Linked DNA regions of Homo sapiens: region 2 is linked to region 1. The links are contacts of gene promoters, found by promoter capture Hi-C in blood cells and fetal thymus (Javierre and others, 2016). All regions are on one chromosome and are shown on one strand. Each heading gives the region's core, a stretch centred on a gene start or on the middle of the fragment in contact. The rest is flanking DNA. Distances are from core to core; before and after follow the strand shown.

Region 1 (2,820 bases), core at 96-2,595:
ACTGAATTACACTTCAAGTTTTATCTACCCCAATCCTCTCCCTCCAACCCACAGCCCAGCTGCATCAGCCATGCCAGGACCAAGCCGAGGGTAGGAAGCCGGTGTAATTGTCTGCCTCTCTGGCTGCATTCCTTAGCTAAATATAAATGATTTGTCCAGGCTATTGTTTGAAATTATCCATAATCCCTCTCCTCCCCTCCCCATTACTTATGATGGCAAGCTGGCTGCGTATCTCTATAGCAAAGCATATATTCAACATTCTCTGTGGCTATTTTCAGTAAAGAGAAGGGAGCTGGCAGGTATATATAGGGATCCTCGCATGAGTCTTCAGTTTTCTCCACTAGTCCAGGAAAGCTTCCTGGAGGAGGAAATACCTGAGTCACCCCAGGGAAAAGGACAGCTGCAGGTCAGAAGGGCACGCGCACATAATGAGAGACTGGGTCTCTGAACTAAGAGTTACCAGGTAAGGCAGGTAAGCCCCTGCCTTCTTACCCCCCGTTTTGGTGATGCGAGAAAAAGGTAGCTCAGGGGATCCCATACTAGCCCAAGCTTCCCCAGACAAAACAGGCATTTGGGGGAAGATGAAGCAGTGACTCGTATATTTTTCAAAGAGGGAGGAGATCCAAGACTCCAGTTCCAAGATGTACAAGTACAAATATTGCTCTTACAACAACAAGCCGGTTTCTTGTTTGGATCTTTTTTTAAAAACCACAAGAAAGTTTTTTGAAGTCCCAAACTTGAATGCACAGATGGGCTAGATCTCCAACTTCGGGATGTGCCAGAGTCCTGTCACTCGGAGTGCTGATCTTCCAGCAGTGGCCCAGGGAGCGGTCGCGGGTGCCGGGGGGCTGCAGGCCATATCCCAGCCCTGCCCGAAGGCCCCCTGGCCCTCTCTGGGGTCCTTGTATGGACTGTCCCAAGCGGTGCACGGGGTCACACAGTCGGAAACCCTTGCCGGCCCCGGGTTACTCCCTTTCTGAAACGGTCTTCCTCGGAGCCATCCCCTGGAGGACCCCACTTCGCTCGGTGCCCGGGCCCCGCACCCACCCTCCCCTTCCCGGCCCGCTTCCCGCACGGCGCCTACTCTGTTCCTCGTCCTCTCGTCCCACCGCCGCCCTGCCCACACTGCCTCCCGTGGGCGCCCCCGGCCGCTCCCCCTTCTCGGGTCTCGGCCTGGGGGTGCCCAGCCCGCCCGGCGCCGGCTCAAGGCCGCGCGACTCCGCACGCTCTCGAGACCCGCCTCGCCGCCCGCCGCCCGGGCCGCACTCACCGCGCCCGCAGGACCTGGGGGTCTCCGCTCTGCTCGCGCTCCGGCACCGCCGCCGCCGCCGCCGCCAGCGGAAACAGGGGGCGGGGCCTGCCCGGGAATGGCGAGCCTGCGGGGCGGGGCGGCCCGGGGGCGGAGCGGGGAGGGGCGGGGCGGAGCGGGGAGGGGCGGGGCGGAGAAGGATCGCAGGGCTGAGCGGGGCGCCAGCGCCAGTGCCCGGCACTGCCCCGGGCTGGGTCCCCTGCGTTAGAGGAAGGGGAGCCCGGGGACGGGGCACGGGGCCCGCGAGGCACGGGTGCTCTCTCGGGGTTCCGGAAGCCTCCCTCCCCGCCCCGCCGCCCGCATGCCCGGACCGGCCGCTCCTCCGAGGTGCTATGATCCCGCCTTCCCCCTGCGGCGAACGGGCCTCTTCCCGGGGTAGGGGCGGGGAGGTCCGGGCCTGGCAGTGCGCTCTCCTGGGCTCTGCGCCCACACGGCACCCAAGGGCCTTCCTGGCCCAGGCCTCGGCTCTCTCCCTCGCGCCAGGCTGCCTGGCCTCGCCACCCCACCCCCACACCTACGAACCCCTTCCCTGGTGTTTCGGGCGGACTGTGCGAGATGCTGACAGCGCGGGTGTGTGTTGGAGCCTGCCTGAGACACCTCCCGCAGAAAGGGCCATGCCTCCCCAGGAGCTGGCGGCCTCCAAGGGCGACTACAGGGCACCGTGTGCCTGAGGGGTGCGCTAAGGCAGGAGAAACTCCAGCTAGGCATGTCTGGCCCGGGCGCTTTTTCAGGCCTGGATTTTATGTGTTTTTTGCTTTTTGTTTTGTTTTGTTTTTTCTTGAGACAAGGACTCACTCTGTTGCCCAGGCAGGAGTGCAGTGGTGCGATCACGGCTCACTGCAGCCTCGACTTCCCGGGCTCAAGTGATCCCGCCTCAGCCTCCAGAGTAGTTGGGACTGTAGGCGCGCACCACCACGTCCGGCGAAGTTTTTGATTTTTTTTGTACAGACGGTGGTCTCCCTGGGCCCAAGCTGGTCTCAAACTCCCGGGCTCAAGCCATCCTCCTGCCTCTGCCTCCCAAAGTGCTGGGATTATAGGCCCGGATTCTTAAAGCTAGAAGGCCTAAACTTGTTTCCAAAGAGCACTAAAACGCCATCTCTTCTCATCATTACTGTCATCAAAAATGTCTTCTAGGCCAGGTGTGGTGGCTCACGCGTGTAATCCCAGGACTTTGGGGGGCCCAGGTGGAAGGATTGCTTGAGCTCAGGAACTCAGGAATTCAAGAACAGCCTGGGCAACATAGGGAAACCCCATCTCAAAAAAAAAATGTTTTAATTAACCGGGTGTGGTGGCACACCCCTGTAGTCCCAGCTGCTCCGGAGGCTGAGGCTCAGGCGTTGGAGGCTGCAGTAAACTAGGATCATGCCACTGTACTCCAGCCTGGGCAGTAGAGGGAGACCCTGTCTTTAAAAGTGAAATTTTTTTAAATTTTAAAGAAACTGTATGCTGTGCTTCCCACGTGCCCTACCATTGCACTAAGCTTGACTGGGGACAAGTTTTTAAAACCTGGC
Region 2 (3,232 bases), core at 280-2,779, 690 kb before region 1:
AGGTTAACACTGGCTGTCTGGAGATAAGTCCAAGTTATAACTGGCATTCAGTGTCTACATAATTTACTCCAGCATGTATTTATAGACTTATCTGCTTCTGCTTCTCAATCCAATTTCTGTATTTTAGCAAAATAATATTATTTTTCTCTCAAATTCACCTTGTGCGTTTCCATTTCTAAAAACTTCTTTCTCCAGGCACATGTTATTTCCTTCCATCTATATTTCTCACATTCCTGCAATCTGTCAATCAAAATTATATCCATCCCTAAGATCTGATTCAAATCACGCCTTCTCCAGAAAGGCTTTCCTGATCGTTCTAGCTAAAAGGCCTCTCTCCTTCCTCGAAACTCTGATATCTCAGTTTGTCTGTCTGTTATCACCTTACCTTATAGCTTAGTTATTGTATACTCACCTTCCCTACCTCCTGCTTTAGTTAGACTGTAAACTCTCTGAGGACAGGGTCATTCTTTTTAATCTCTGTATCCCCCACAGCCTCTAAGACAGCCTTTTGCACTTAATAGGAGCTCAACAAACATCTGTTGGGAAATGAATGAGAATCACATAATGAGTAGTTAAGGAAACATGAAATGAGTAGTTAAGGAATTTTAGAATCCTGAAAAACTCAGCTGGTGACTGGGTCCCGAGTAAAAGAGAAGAGCATGAGCAGGAAGTGAGCTGGTTTGATCCCTCTTTGGAGGCAGCCAGCTGCAGCCCCAAAGAAATCTATTTCGTTTAAAAAAACAAAAACAGCAAACAAAGTTGGCAGAGGAAGTGATGACGTCAACATTCCGTTTCTGCACAGATGTATCACTCAATTAAACTCAATAGCTCAAACACCAAATTACTACATCTTCACCCCTCATCCTCCACCTAGCTTTCTCAAAACACACACACTCATGCCTAGGGGACAGACAGCAAATATGTTTTAGAATTTTGGTAGGTATTCTTGGTAGGGCAGAAAGTGTCATCCAGAATTCTCTCCTCAGGTACTATATGCTGGGAAAATGGGGATAGCAATATGTGTGTGCAGTGTTTCAGTTCTTTTTTGGTAAAGGCCAAGATTGTAGATAAAAATTCATTTTAGTTGGATTTCTGCCATTACTGGTATCAAAAATAACTCCATTTTAGTGATGCTGAAAAGTACTGAGCAGGTGGCTGGAAACCTGGCACACTGTCCCAGAGATCCTGGCAGCAAACTCTGAGAGTGCACAGGGACATTGGATAGCTAGACAGGGCATGGCCCGAGCAGGGTTGGCTTTGACTGGGGCTACATGCAATCAGTGTAGGTCAGAAGGAAGGAGAGAAAATTTATGTCACAACAAGATGTCACCTACACAGTTGAGGAGCTGGTCATTGCATGTCCAGAGTTCACACCTCCATTGCTGAGTCAGTATTGAGAGTCAGGTTGCTTTGTTTTGTCTTGTTTTTGTGTGTTTTTTTTTGTTTTCACAGCCTTTTTGAGGTGTCATTTATATACCTTATACCCATTGCAAGTATACAACTTAATGATTTTTAATAAAGGTATAGAGTTGTATGACCATCATCACAATCCAGTTTTATTACATTGTCATAATCCTAAACATTTTATTAAGCTCATTTGCAGCCCAAACCAACTTCTACCCCACCTCCCCAGGATAATCATTAATCTGCTTTCTGTCTCTATAATTTGCCTCTTCTGGACACTTACTATAAACGAAATCATCTAATATATACTCTTTGCATCTCTCTTCCTTTTTTTTTTTTGAGACAGAGTTTCGCTCTGTCGCCCAGGCTGCAGTGCAGTGGCACGATCTCGGCTCACTGCAAGCCCCACCTCCTGGATTTACACCATTCTCCTGCCTCAGCCTCCAGAGTAGCTGGGACTGCAGGCGCCCGCCACCACGCCTGGCTAATTTTTTGGTATTTTTTTTTAGTAGAGACTGGGTTCACCGTGTTAGCCAGGATGGTCTTGATCTCATGACCTCGTGATCCGCCTGCCTCAGCCTCCCAAAGTGCTGAGATTACAGGCGTGAGCCACTGCGCCTGGCCTACATCTGTCTTTTTTAGGCATACTTTTTATTAGGTTCATTCATGTTGTAATATGTACCAGTATTTTACTCCTTCGTATTGCTGAGTAGTATTCCATTGAATGAGTATACCATATTGGGTTTATCCACTCACCAACTGGTAGACATTTGGATTTTTTCCAGGTTTTGGCTAGTACAAATAATGCTGCTATGCACATTCAATTATGAGTCATTGTATGGAGATGTTTTCATTTCTCTTGGATAGATTCCTCAGAGTGAAGCCACTGAGTCTTGGGTAAGTTTTTGTTTAACTTAAGAAAGAACCAAAGAATTTTCCAAAGTAGCTGTACCATTTTCATTTCTTCCAGGAACATGCAAGCATTCCAGTTTCTCCACACCCTCACTAATACTTAGTATTACCTGTCTTTGAATATAGCACTCTACTGAGCATATAAGAGTATCACATTATGTTTTTTTTTTTGAGATAGAGTCTCGTTCTGTCCCCCAGGCTGGAGTGCAGTGGTGCGATCTCAGCTCACTGCAAGCTCCGCCTCCCGGGCTCATGCCATTCTCCTGCCTTAGCCTCCCGAGTAGCTGGGACTACAGGCACCTGCCACCACACCCGGCTAATTTTTTGTATTTTTAGTAGAGACGGGGTTTCACCATGTTAGCCAGGATGGTCTCGATCTCCTGACCTCATGATCCACCTGCCTTGACCTCCCAAAGTGCTGGGATTACAGGCGTGAGCCACCGCGCCCAACCCACATTATGATTTTAGTTTGCATTTCCTTATGACTAATGATGCTGGGTGCCTTTTCATGTGTTTATTTGCTATTAATATGTCTTCTTTGGTGAAATATTTATTCAAGTCTTCTATCATTTTTTAATCAGTTGTAATTAAAATTACTATAATTACTGAATTGTAAAGCTACCTTTTATATTCTGGATACTAGACCTTTATTAGATATATGTTTTGCAAATATTTCATCCCAGTTTGTGCTGGTCTTTTAATTTTATTAGGGTTATTTTTTGAAGCACAAAGGTTTTTAAATTTAATAAGGTGCAATTTACCAATTGTTTCTTTTATGGATCCTTCTGGAGTCATAAAGATTTGCAGAAGATTTCTCAAAAATATTTTTCTCCTATATTTTCATTTAAAAGTTTTATAGTTGTAGCTCTTCTACTTAAGACTGTGACCCCTTTGAGTTTAAGGAGAATGTAAGAGA

Evidence for each region. The method cuts DNA at HindIII sites, captures the fragments that hold promoters and counts their contacts. A CHiCAGO score of 5 or more calls a contact.
Region 2: a contact is called between a fragment that was not itself captured here and the fragment with the promoter of TSPAN9 in region 1, in 1 of 17 cell types (endothelial precursors). The highest score is 5.1, in endothelial precursors.

What each region holds. Positions count from the first base shown.
Region 1 is chr12:3,075,904-3,078,723 of GRCh38, reverse strand. It overlaps TSPAN9 (tetraspanin 9), which reads right to left and starts at 1,345. Exons shown (of 9, transcript NM_006675.5): 1 at 1,271-1,345. RefSeq lists silencers at 1,240-1,739, 1,790-1,839. The HindIII fragment of the contact is 2,240 bases long and covers 552-2,791 here.
Region 2 is chr12:3,770,079-3,773,310 of GRCh38, reverse strand. No RefSeq gene overlaps it. Among named protein-coding and RNA genes, the nearest start is that of CRACR2A, 19 kb to the right of the region's middle. The HindIII fragment of the contact is 3,658 bases long and covers 1-3,232 here.